Linked DNA regions of Homo sapiens: regions 2, 3 and 4 are each linked to region 1. The links are contacts of gene promoters, found by promoter capture Hi-C in blood cells and fetal thymus (Javierre and others, 2016). All regions are on one chromosome and are shown on one strand. The core of a region is centred on a gene start or on the middle of the fragment in contact, and the rest is flanking DNA. Distances in the headings are between cores, read along the strand shown.

Region 1 (2,782 bases), core at 207-2,706:
ACTCTAGAAATGTAATTCATTTTCTTTTAAGAATCTATTCCATTCGTACATCCAGATCTGATTCAGATTAAAAACATCAAGTCAGATATTTTAAAAGTGGAATTTACCATGCTGAAACAAATTAAGTCATCTCTGTACTAAGAAATCAATTTGTGTGGCTGGGGGTGGGAAAGCTCGGGAAATTTTAATTTCAATGAATTTTCAGAAAATGCTTCAAAGAGAACTACCTGGCACCATAAGTAACTGTTCTAATTAGTCTAATAATTATTCTCAACTCAATCATTAATGTTCAAATGCAATTAATTATACAGATTCGAGAGATATTTCTCAGAAATGAAGAATCCAAGTCGTTGATCTAGATTTGGATTGAACGTCGAATGCCCGGTTTGTTATTTACCAAGACCCAGAAAACATCTGGCCCCAAAGCAGACATGTTTGCTTCAACAGACTAAAAGTAAAACCCGACGGTGAACCATACAGAATTCAACATACTTGGATAATGCCAGCTTAGGAAAAACTAAATTTTCTTCCACTAAGCTTAAGATGAAGGCGTGTTTAATACTTTTAATGTTATCCAGGCTTTTTATAAAGCTAACGAGATTGTCACTACCTAACCAAGACACCGAAGACTGATCTACGTAACCTTTGGAGTGGTTTAGAAGTAGGCAAAGACGAGAAATTACATTAAACATAGTGCTCAGTTCTTCCACAAAATTGTAGGTGGCTCTGAAAAGAGCCTTTGGTTCCTTTGGGATTGAGTTGCTGCAAACTAATCCAGGCTTCTACTTGCCCTTCGCCTTGTGGTGGCTCTCGGTCTTCTTGGGCAGTAGCACGGCCTGGATGTTGGGCAGGACGCCACCCTGTGCGATGGTGACTTTGCCCAGAAGCTTGTTGAGCTCCTCATCGTTGCGGATGGCCAGCTGGAGGTGACGCGGGATGATGCGAGTCTTCTTGTTGTCGCGGGCCGCGTTGCCAGCCAGCTCCAGGATCTCGGCGGTCAGGTACTCCAGCACCGCCGCCAGGTACACCGGCGCTCCAGCACCGACCCGCTCCGCATAGTTGCCTTTGCGGAGCAGGCGATGCACTCGGCCTACGGGAAACTGAAGCCCGGCCCGAGAAGAGCGGGTCTTGGCCTTGGCGCGAGCTTTGCCTCCCTGCTTGCCACGCCCAGACATGGCAAAAGGCCTATTATCTATACGGTCAAGAAAGACTGAAGTGAAACTAGAAAAACGTACATTTTATAGCCTCTACTGGGCGCGAAAAGGAAGCTGTGCGATTGGCTTACGTTTTATTTTTATTTAGACCAATAGGACTCGATTATGCAGGATACCTATTTTGATTGGGCAAAACTGGCATCTGTCGTCATCCACGGATAATTACCAATCAGCAGAGACCTTCCCACTACCTCGGCCGCATAAACTATTATATAAAAAGAGGAGACCGACTTCTTGTTTTGGTTTTGCCACTATTGTTTCATTATGCCCGAGCTGGCCAAGTCTGCTCCCGCCCCGAAGAAGGGCTCCAAGAAGGCGGTGACCAAGGCCCAGAAGAAGGATGGCAAGAAGCGCAAGCGCAGCCGCAAGGAGAGCTACTCCGTGTACGTGTACAAGGTGCTGAAGCAGGTCCACCCCGACACCGGCATCTCTTCTAAGGCCATGGGAATCATGAACTCCTTCGTCAACGACATCTTCGAGCGCATCGCAAGCGAGGCTTCCCGCCTGGCGCACTACAACAAGCGCTCGACCATCACCTCCAGGGAGATCCAGACCGCCGTGCGCCTGCTGCTTCCGGGGGAGCTGGCCAAGCACGCGGTGTCGGAGGGCACCAAGGCCGTCACCAAGTACACCAGCTCCAAGTAAATTCTCAAGCTCTTGTCCAACCCAAAGGCTCTTTTCAGAGCCACTCACTATTATCTAAAGAAGAGCTGGTTCGCTCTTCCTATCACTGGGGGGCGAGGGGTCATAAATCATTTTGATCTATCCACTAAATTAATCTAGCTCTTTGAAAGCCATTTAAGGTGAAATGTACATGAGGTACGTGCATATAGCTACCAACACCATAGAGGGTCCGACCTTTGCGCTTGAGGGCATAAACTAAGTCCTTAGCAGGGACTGCTTTGCGCTTTGCTCGTTCCGTGTAAGTCAGTCAAGCGCATCCGGGATCACGTTATCCGGAAATTCCTTGAGCATCCACGGGTTTCTAAAAAGATGAGACCAGAATGCGTTTGACACCGCCAGGCCAGGCTCCAGGTGGTGGGTCTGGTGATGTCTGGATGTTGCACAGCAACTTGCGGTGGCGCCCCCTTTACCCAATCCTTTCCCTCACTTGCGCAACCAGACATGATTTTAAGGCACGACAAAAGACCCGAGGTAAAAACCAAAAACAGCACTAGGAAAACAAGGCTGGCGTTTTTAATCTTTCCGACTAAACTGGAAACTAGAGGGGTGGGCGCGGTGGCTCATGCCTGTAATCCCAGCACTTTGGGAGGTGGAGGCGGGCGGATCCCTTGAGCCCAGGAGTTCGCAACCAGCCTGGGCAACATAGCAAAACCCCGTCTCTGCAAAAAGCACAAAAATTAGCCAGGAGTGGTGGCGCGCCCCTGTTGTCCCAGCTACTTAGGGGGCTGATGTAGGAGGATGGCTTGAGCCTGGTAGGCGGAGTTTACAGTGAGCTGAGATCGCACCACTGCACTCCAGCCTGGGTGATAAAGCCAGGCCTTGTCTCAAAAAAAAAAGTGGGAGATCAGTAAAAGTTAACACCTTGCCTTCTCCTAATTGTCAAT
Region 2 (2,782 bases), core at 75-2,574, 490 kb after region 1:
CTGAAGGTGCAAAGCTACCATCTGGAAACACACACTTTTTCCTGCCTGAACAATGCAATAGAACATTCTGCTGCATTCCCCAAGGCTCTAGGACTGTGATGGGAGAAATTAAACAGTTTAATTTCACTCAGTCAATAAAATTACCATGAATTTTGCTATTGCTTAGGCCTTGTTGCATCTTCCCAGAGAATATTTTTTCCCTTAAGATGCTGCTATGACTTTTTTCATTTGGAGCAGGTTTATATTTCTGAAGTTTCCTTAAAAAGCAAACTTAATACTGTTCTGTTTAATGAGTCAATTCAATTTTTAATTGAATTCTCAGTACCTATATTAGTTGGTATGTACAAAGTGATTTTCCTAAGATTTAAAATTTTTACTGTATTTTAATTGCTTCCAACAACTTGTGTTAAATGTTATAAAGTATATTTTACTGTGAAAATTTGAATGTACATTCAAATGACATACACACAAAAATGCAATATATAAAAGTAAAAATACTTTTTTGCAAGCACAAATTTACCCAATAAAACTGAAGAAATAAAATATTGCCAATACTTTGAAGCCCTAAATCTGCCCTTCCCAATCTCTTCTTCCTTTCTTCCTCTGCAGAATAATTATTTTATATTTATCATTCTTTTTGCTGTTCTCAATTGATTTGCCACATATCTATGCATTATGAGAGAATATGTTAAGTTTGCATGTTTCTGAACTTTATATTAATGTTGTTCACACTTCTACATTCTGCTTTGTGAAGCTGGGGCTGGGACTGCAAACCTCACCCTGTACCCTCTCTTAGACTTTGGCAGTGGAGGACTCTAGAAGGACACTGGAAGGCTGGAAAAGAGAGAAGAAACTCTCAATTCTGTTGTTCTCTTCCTGTTAGCATCATCCCAGCAGCACTTCACGCTGTAGTAGCAGTAAGTTCCAGCAGCAATTAGTTCACGTTTTCAGGGTTGTTTTCCACACTCCCAGAACCAGCCTCATCATATCCTCTCAGAGTTCACAGCACCAGCTGGCCAGTGACCCCTCCTCAGAGATCTGGCTTCAGCACTGAGTCTCTTTCTCTAAGCTTCTAGCTTCTAATAACCCCACCTCTTGCACGTGTGTTTCCTCAGCTCTTGGGGTAGTAGCTGTTTCATGCTGTCACTACTGTTTCTTTTTGCCTTTTTAGTCTTCCAACACCCATTTTACCAATTCCATCTAGTAATCCTGTTAAAATAATCAGTGTGATCTCTGTTTTCCTTACTTGATACTAATACACCTCATGTGTATGAATCAAAAGACAAAATGTATTTTCCAGTCTTTGAACTTTATATATATACTGTCTTTTTATTCTTTGCCTGCCTTCTTTTGCACAACTTTTGGTTTGTGATATTCATCCATGTTATTGAATGTACCTGGAGACCATTCAGTTTACGTTGTGGTATTGTATTCCCCTGCGCAGGTATATCACAATTAAATTCTCTGGTGTTCGTTTTTGTGAATACACATTCAGATACCTTCCAGATTTTTTATATTCTAAATAATACTGCTATAAACATTCATGTATTTGCCTTGTAGTACAAATGTATAAGCTTTCTATAAGGCAGTGGTTTCCCAAATATTGGGTTTTATAGTTTTAGCTCTTATATTTAGCTCTTTAATCCATTGAGTCAATTTTTGTATATGGTGTGAGGTAAGTGTCAAACTTTATTCATTTGCACATGTCTGTCAATTTGTCCCGGCACCATTTGTTGGAAAGACTATTCTTTTCCTACTGAATAGTCTCAGACTCTTGGAAAAAGTCAGTTGGCCATAGACATATGGGTTTATTTCTGGCCTCTCAACTGTAGATTCCATTCATCTATATGTTTATGCTTATGGCAGTACAACATTGTTTTAATTACTGTTGCTCTATAGTAAATTTTGAAATCAGGAAGTGTGAGTCTTTCAACTTTGTTCTAGTTTTTCAAGGGTTCCATGCAATTGTAGGTGCATTTTTAGGGTTGAAGAAATTCCCTTCTATTTCTAGTTTGTTGAGACTTTTTAACATGAAAGAGATCTTTTGAGATGGTCATGTGGTTTTTGTTTTTTATTCTGTTGACATGGTGTATCATATTAACTGATTTTCAGAATTTAAAACAATCTTGCACTTCTGGGATAAATCCCACTTGGTAATGATATCTAGTTCTTTTTATATGTTGTTGGATTCATCTTGCTGGTGTTTTGTTGAGTATTTTTATGTCTGTATTCATAAGAAATATTGGTCTGTAGTTTTCTTTTCTTGTGATGGCTTTGCCTGGTTTTGGTATAAGGATACTGGTACTGGCCTTGTAGAATGAGTTGAGAAGTGTTTCCTCCTCTTCTGTTTTTTGGAAGAGTTTGTGAAGAGTTGGTATTAATTCTTTTAAGTGTTTGGTAGAATTCAACACTGAAGCCATCTAAGTCTGGACATTTATTTGTATATAGTTTTTTTATTACTAATTTATCTCTTTACTTATTACAGGTCTAGTCAGATTGTCTATTTCTTCTTGAGTCAGTTTCAGTAGTTAGCATCATTACAGGGATTTGTCTATTCCATCTAAGTTATCTAATGTTTTGGCATACAGTTTTTCGCAGCTGTCCTTTACAGTCTTTTTATTTCTATATGGTTAGTAGTAATGTTCACTCTTTCATTTTGGATTCCAATAATTTCAGTTCTCTTTTTTTCTTGGTCACTCTATCTAAAGGTTTGTTAATTTTATTGATCTTTTTGAAGAGCTAGTTTTTCATTTCATTGATTTTCTTGACATTTTTCTATTAT
Region 3 (2,782 bases), core at 95-2,594, 300 kb after region 1:
GGGAGTTGGAGGTTGCAGTGAGCCAAGGTCCTGCCACTGCACTCCAAGCCTGGCGACAGAGCAAGACTCCATCTCAAGGAAAAAGAAAAAAAGAAGTGAGTCACCATTTGCACGAGCTTCCTGGTGGAATGGAGAAGTGCTAAGGCAGCAACAGCAAGGATCTTGTTCCAAGAACATGGGTAAGGGAGCTGATTAGTTTCCTAAGACTGCCCTAACAAATTACTATAAACTGGGTAACTTAAAAAGACAGATTTATTCTTAAGATTTTGGCCGGGTTGGTTGTTTTCTAGGTGCTCTGAGGGAAAATCTGAGACCTCTTTCCTTGCTCCTGATGGTTGAAGAAAATCCTTGGCATTCTTGGTTTGTAATTGCATCACTCCAGTCTCTGCCTCCCTCTCAACATAGCTTTTGAACTAGTGACTATGTGTCTGTGTCTCTAAATTTCTCACTTCCTATAAGGACAGCAGTCACTGGATTACTGGATTTAGAGCCTACCTGAATCCAGCATGATCTTCTCTTAACTTGATTAAATCAGCGAAGACTGTTTTCAAATAGGTCACACTCACAGGTACCACAGGTTAGGATTTCAACATATCTTTCTGGGCAACACAATGCAATTCACTTCAGGAGCAACTGCCTTTTTGTCTGCCCTAAACGAAAATGCATGTGGGAAAACTGTATCTGCAAGAGAGTTCGAGGGTCTCAGGTGTAAAAGAGATTCTCTCGTTTGTATCTGAAAGTCTGTCTGAATCTACTTGGTGGTACTTTGGCCAAGCATTTCAATTCCCAGAACTCAAAGCTGTAATCCCTGAGATTCCCCATTAAAGAATAAACAATAAAAGCCTGGTTCTGCAGTGTTTTCCTGAACCAACAGTCTTTAATCCTAGGGGGTAAAAAGGTATTAATATAGCTAGATTTAATGTGGCATTCACAAGCTCTTTTACGTTAGGAGGGACAGACAATGTTCTCAAGCTGCAAAATTTTGGAAAACATGTTATCTAAGCTTCTCCATATTCCCCTGGCTCCTGGGACTGCCTGCTTCCCTCCCTGGGGAAGGTGAAAAGGAGTGAGTTTTCCTGAGAGGATGGAGACCTTCCCATCAACTTTTTCTTCAGAGGGTCCACGAGGGCTAGGTCTTCCCTGCCCCTTCTCATCCTGCACCCCTGCTCAAATTGGGTTTCAACGAATTCTTTAAGCCAGAGAAAGGACAAAGCAGTTCAAAGCTGTTGAAGATATTTCTGGTTTAGTATTCAATACTGAAAGCAAAAGCAAATGACTCCAAGGTCATAATTCCTTCAAATTTCCTCTAGCAGGTTTCCTGTGCTATTGTCATTTGAGGCTGTGAAGCTACTAGGATCAGACCCTCAGCTCCAAACTCCCTTTCTGCTGGTTTCTCACAAATACCTGTGAACAGGTGCATCAACCGTGACTAGCAAGTGGAGTTCTAGGGGGAGAGAAAATCCAAGTCTCTTGTCTCAGAATGCTCCTTTGAACTCCACTTTTCTCAACTGAATTCCAATTCAGTATGGATGACTTATTTCATCTAAAAGCTGGAAGCTCTTAATGCACCTAGAAAATTCTTTGTTACTAGACTTAGTAACCAGGCACCAAAACATCTTTTACTGTAGTATCTACTTACCATACTACCCAAGAATGGCACACTGCTCACATCTTCAAAAGCTTAAACCAAGAGCACTACACAGGTGCGTAGTCGTGGCCGAGTGGTTAAGGCGATGGACTTGAAATCCATTGGGGTTTCCCCGCGCAGGTTCGAATCCTGTCGGCTACGGTTTGGTTTTAGCCTGACTTCTCCCAAATAGTTTCCTTCTAATTGCACCCCAAAGGCAACTGAGTCTCCTGGATTACAATTGTGTCATCTCCTTTGGTAACACTGCGTTGAACTCTGCATTCTAGCTGTCATCATCATTATTAACCCTGCGTTGTAGTTTACCTCTTTCTCTGAGTCCATTACTTTCCTCCTCCTCCAACATCCGAGACAACCGTGTCTCGAGTAAGAGAGAATCTATTGCTGTGGTGTAAACACCACCTAACGTTAATCCTGATTTGAGGAAGGCAATTCTCTTTTCCTCACCTACAAGCTCTGAGAATCGAAGTCAGACTCCATCGAGTTTTCTCTGTAGATAAGTCTAAGTTGCTTGTCTGGTGTGTGAAGATTTTGCCTATAGTGTATTAAGTGTTTTGTTAGCCCAAGTTTAGGGACTGTCATTCAACAGCAACAAGGCATTACCTGTTTTGCAGCAATAACAATGATTGTGATTGTAGCTTCAATATAAATTCGTTGGTTTGTAGACAGTACCACACACACTGTATCTTCTCGGCCTAAAAATTCGAGAGCCCAAGAATGGGAAAGGTTTATTAAACCACAGGAAGTGGATGTTAAAGCTAGCCTCTGGCTGCCAAGCCCTTATTATTTTTATTCTATTGATTTTGTTAAATGTCTTCATCTTACAGCTTAGAAAAATTCAAGGTGAAGTTCTCTGGCCCCAGTCTATTCTTCCTATCTTCTCCAGCACATTCAAAGACCAAGAACACTTATCTGGGCTTTACAGTAGATTCAGGAAACAGTGTAACTTCAGACACTCAGTACTTTGGTTCTCATACAGAATAAAGTTGGGAAGAAAAGGTCGAGGGAGAAGACGAAAAGATGTGGAAAAACAAGAAAACGGAAGAGAGGAGAAAGGCCAGGAGATTGAAGGAATGGAACAAAAGAGAAGCTAGCAGGGTGCCAAATATAGGAATGTTCTCACCCCTCTTGCCCACT
Region 4 (2,782 bases), core at 109-2,608, 280 kb after region 1:
TTCCATGTTATTTCTGGAATCCTTGAGCCTAATTTTTTTTTTTTTTTTGAGTTGGAGTCTCACTCTGTCGCCCAGGCTGGAGCGCAATGACAAGATCTCTCCTCACTGTAACCTCTGCCTTCTGGGTTCAAGCAATTCTCCTGCCTCAGCCTTCTAAAGTGCTGGAATTACAAATGTGAGCCGCCGCGCCTGGCCCGGTGAACTCTTTTAATGGTGAACTTCAAGTCACAACAGTAACTATCAGTTCAACTACACCAAGGTTACTGAAGATAATGGCTTCTCCACCCAAGCAGGTCATATACAAATTCCAAATAGAATGTGGCATCACCCTGAAGGAATTCCCTTCACAATGTTGGGGAAATTTACCAAGATGGCTTCAGAGTAGACTAACTTTACATAGCACATTTTTCAAAGAGACACATTTATTCAGAGTCATGATTAGACTATTACATTTGGCATCCAACAGCCTAGGTGCAAAAAAAAAAAAACACACTATATTAAAACCCTTTGTTGAAATGATTTATACTTTCCTCAGAACAGAAACTAAAATAACCTATTATACAATTAGTCATAAATACAGTCCTCAAGTTTTTTGCCCATATACATGAGTATTTGTCTAATACATGTCTTCTTTGTAGCAGTTAGGCCCTTCCACCACTGGGCTTGGCTGAGTTCACAAATCGGTTGTAATCTGCAGCTTCCCTGTCACTTCTTTGACTCTCCTTTCCTGGTAAGCTTTGTTTCCTGGCAGTAATTAAAATCTTCTACCACTGCCGTAACTACTGCTGCTACGGAACTGCCATAGCCACCTTGGTTTCATGGTTTGGCAAAGTATTGGCTTCCACCACCATAGGGACCAGAGCTTCTGCCTCCAAAGTTTCCTCCCTTTATGGGTCCAAAATTTGAAGACCGATCGTTGTAATTGCCAAAATCATTGTAGCTTCCACCACCTCCAAAATTGCTTCCATCATTATCAAATCTGTTATAGCCATTCCCACTGCCACCCTATCTACCACCACCACTTCTGCCACCAAAGCCAGCACAACCACTGAAGTTTCCTCCACGACCGAAGTTGTCATTCTCACCAAAACCACCTCCAACGCCACCACCAAAGTTTCCAGAACCACTTCGATCTCTTTGGCTGGATGAAGCACTAAACATCTTTTGCTTTGACAGAGCACTCCTAAAGTCACAGTTGTGGCCATTCACAGTGTGGTATTTCTGAATGACAATCCTTTCCATGGAGTCATGGTCATCAAAAGTTACAAGGCAAAGCCCCTGTTCTTGCCACTGCCTCGGTCAGTCATGATCTCAATCACTTCAATTTTTCCATACTGTTCAATATAATCTCTTAGTTTATGTTCTTCAGTTCTTCTTTAACATCTTTATCACAGTTAAGTGGGCACCTGGTCTTTGAGAATCTTCTCTTGAAACAGCTGTCTTTGGTTCCACAAATCTTCCATCCACCTTGTGCGGCCTTGCATTCATGGCTGTATCCACCTTTTCCATACCGGCATATGTGACAAACCCAAAGCCCCTGGAGTGCTTGGTGTTTGGATCTTTCTTTACTACACAGTCCGTGAGCGTTCCCTATTGCTCAAAATGGCTCCTCAGGCTCTCATCAGTTGTTTCAAAGCTCAACCCTCCTGGCCAGGTGCAGTGGCTCATGCCTGTAATCCTAGCACTCTGGGAGGCCAACCTGGACAACATAGTGAAACCACGTCTGTACTACACACACACAGACACACACACACACACACACACACTTAGCCAGGCGTGGTGGTGCCCGCCTGTAGTCCCAGCTACTTGGGAGGCTGAGGCAGGAGAATCACTTGAACTCAGGAGGCGGAGGTTGCAGCGATCCCAGATTGCGCCACTGCACTCCTCCAGCTTGGCGACAGAAAGAGACTCGTCTCAAAAAAAACAAAAACAAAACCGAAAAAAACAAAATTCAACCCTCCAATGACAATGAAAAGCTTCAGCAGCTGTTCGGGCTCTTTAGGAGACGCTGACTTAGATATGATGGCAGTGGGAAGAAGGGCGTTTAACAGTGCTTCCTCAGCAGTGTCCACAGGCGGAAAAGGCCAGGTTTACTTTTAGTATCTGAATAGTATAGTTGTCTTATTTTATTTATTTATTTTTTAGTACTGTTATTGTTTAGTACAAGAATAAGAATTTTAGCTATTAAGCATAGAGTGAAAATCTTGTGAGCTTTGTTAAGATACTGTCAATCATTGAAATATGAATGGATTTTTACTATTTTAGGGATAAAATGCTTCAATAATTAATAATTTGTGAAAAACTTTATATTTTATGTAATATTAAGAATTAATAAAATTGAAATTAATATAAGGAAGTTAATATAAATATAAGAGTTCTTTAGATTGCTGTATAGGAAGAACATCACATACTTTTATTCTCAACAAATATTATAAATATTTACATTAGAATAAAATGAAGAATAATAAAGTTGTAATTATATCTTAATTCTTCATTTCTAGAATATTTAAAAATACCTTCAAAAACTATTTTCTATATTAGCCTTGAGTCTTTAAACAAAAGTTCTATTTGACAATTTTTTTCATTTTGTCAAAATAACTTAAAAGCAAAATGTCTATTTTGTCACATTAAACTTTCACAAGGGGGAAACGTTCCAAAATTTTGTATTATATCATGACAAATCTTTGTTTATGCAAGTATAACAAAGTCTTTGAAGAAAAGAGGAGATGTTTAGAAGCAATGAAGTCCATCTAAGTTAAAAGTGGGCATCTATTTTTTGGCC

Evidence for each region. Contacts are between HindIII fragments. The CHiCAGO score rates a contact against its expected background, and 5 or more counts as called.
Region 2: a fragment that was not itself captured here is called in contact with the fragment with the promoter of H2BC13 in region 1 in 1 of 17 cell types (M2 macrophages); the score reaches 5.7 in M2 macrophages.
Region 3: a contact is called between a fragment that was not itself captured here and the fragment with the promoter of H2BC13 in region 1, in 3 of 17 cell types (M2 macrophages, M0 macrophages and M1 macrophages). The highest score is 7.0, in M2 macrophages.
Region 4: a fragment that was not itself captured here is called in contact with the fragment with the promoter of H2BC13 in region 1 in 1 of 17 cell types (M2 macrophages); the score reaches 5.1 in M2 macrophages.

The regions. Positions count from the first base shown.
Region 1 is chr6:27,806,603-27,809,384 of GRCh38, reverse strand. H2BC13 (H2B clustered histone 13) reads left to right here and starts at 1,456. Exons shown (of 1, transcript NM_003519.4): 1 at 1,456-1,906. The coding sequence starts at 1,479. The coding sequence ends at 1,859. It overlaps H2AC13 (H2A clustered histone 13), which reads right to left and starts at 1,212. Exons shown (of 1, transcript NM_003509.3): 1 at 718-1,212. The coding sequence starts at 1,175. The coding sequence ends at 783. It also overlaps the pseudogene H4C10P. RefSeq lists enhancers at 352-950, 869-1,068, 1,409-1,638, 1,889-1,988, 1,551-2,150 and 1 more. The HindIII fragment of the contact is 5,899 bases long and covers 890-2,782 here.
Region 2 is chr6:27,316,245-27,319,026 of GRCh38, reverse strand. No RefSeq gene overlaps it. Among named protein-coding and RNA genes, the nearest start is that of POM121L2, 5.4 kb to the right of the region's middle. The HindIII fragment of the contact is 505 bases long and covers 1,072-1,576 here.
Region 3 is chr6:27,504,835-27,507,616 of GRCh38, reverse strand. TRS-TGA4-1 (tRNA-Ser (anticodon TGA) 4-1) reads left to right here and starts at 1,708; the gene lies at 1,708-1,789. RefSeq lists silencers at 1,716-1,775, 1,354-1,785 and an enhancer at 1,896-1,975. The HindIII fragment of the contact is 677 bases long and covers 1,006-1,682 here.
Region 4 is chr6:27,522,312-27,525,093 of GRCh38, reverse strand. It overlaps the pseudogene HNRNPA1P1. Among named protein-coding and RNA genes, the nearest start is that of TRQ-CTG1-2, 4.2 kb to the right of the region's middle. The HindIII fragment of the contact is 1,241 bases long and covers 738-1,978 here.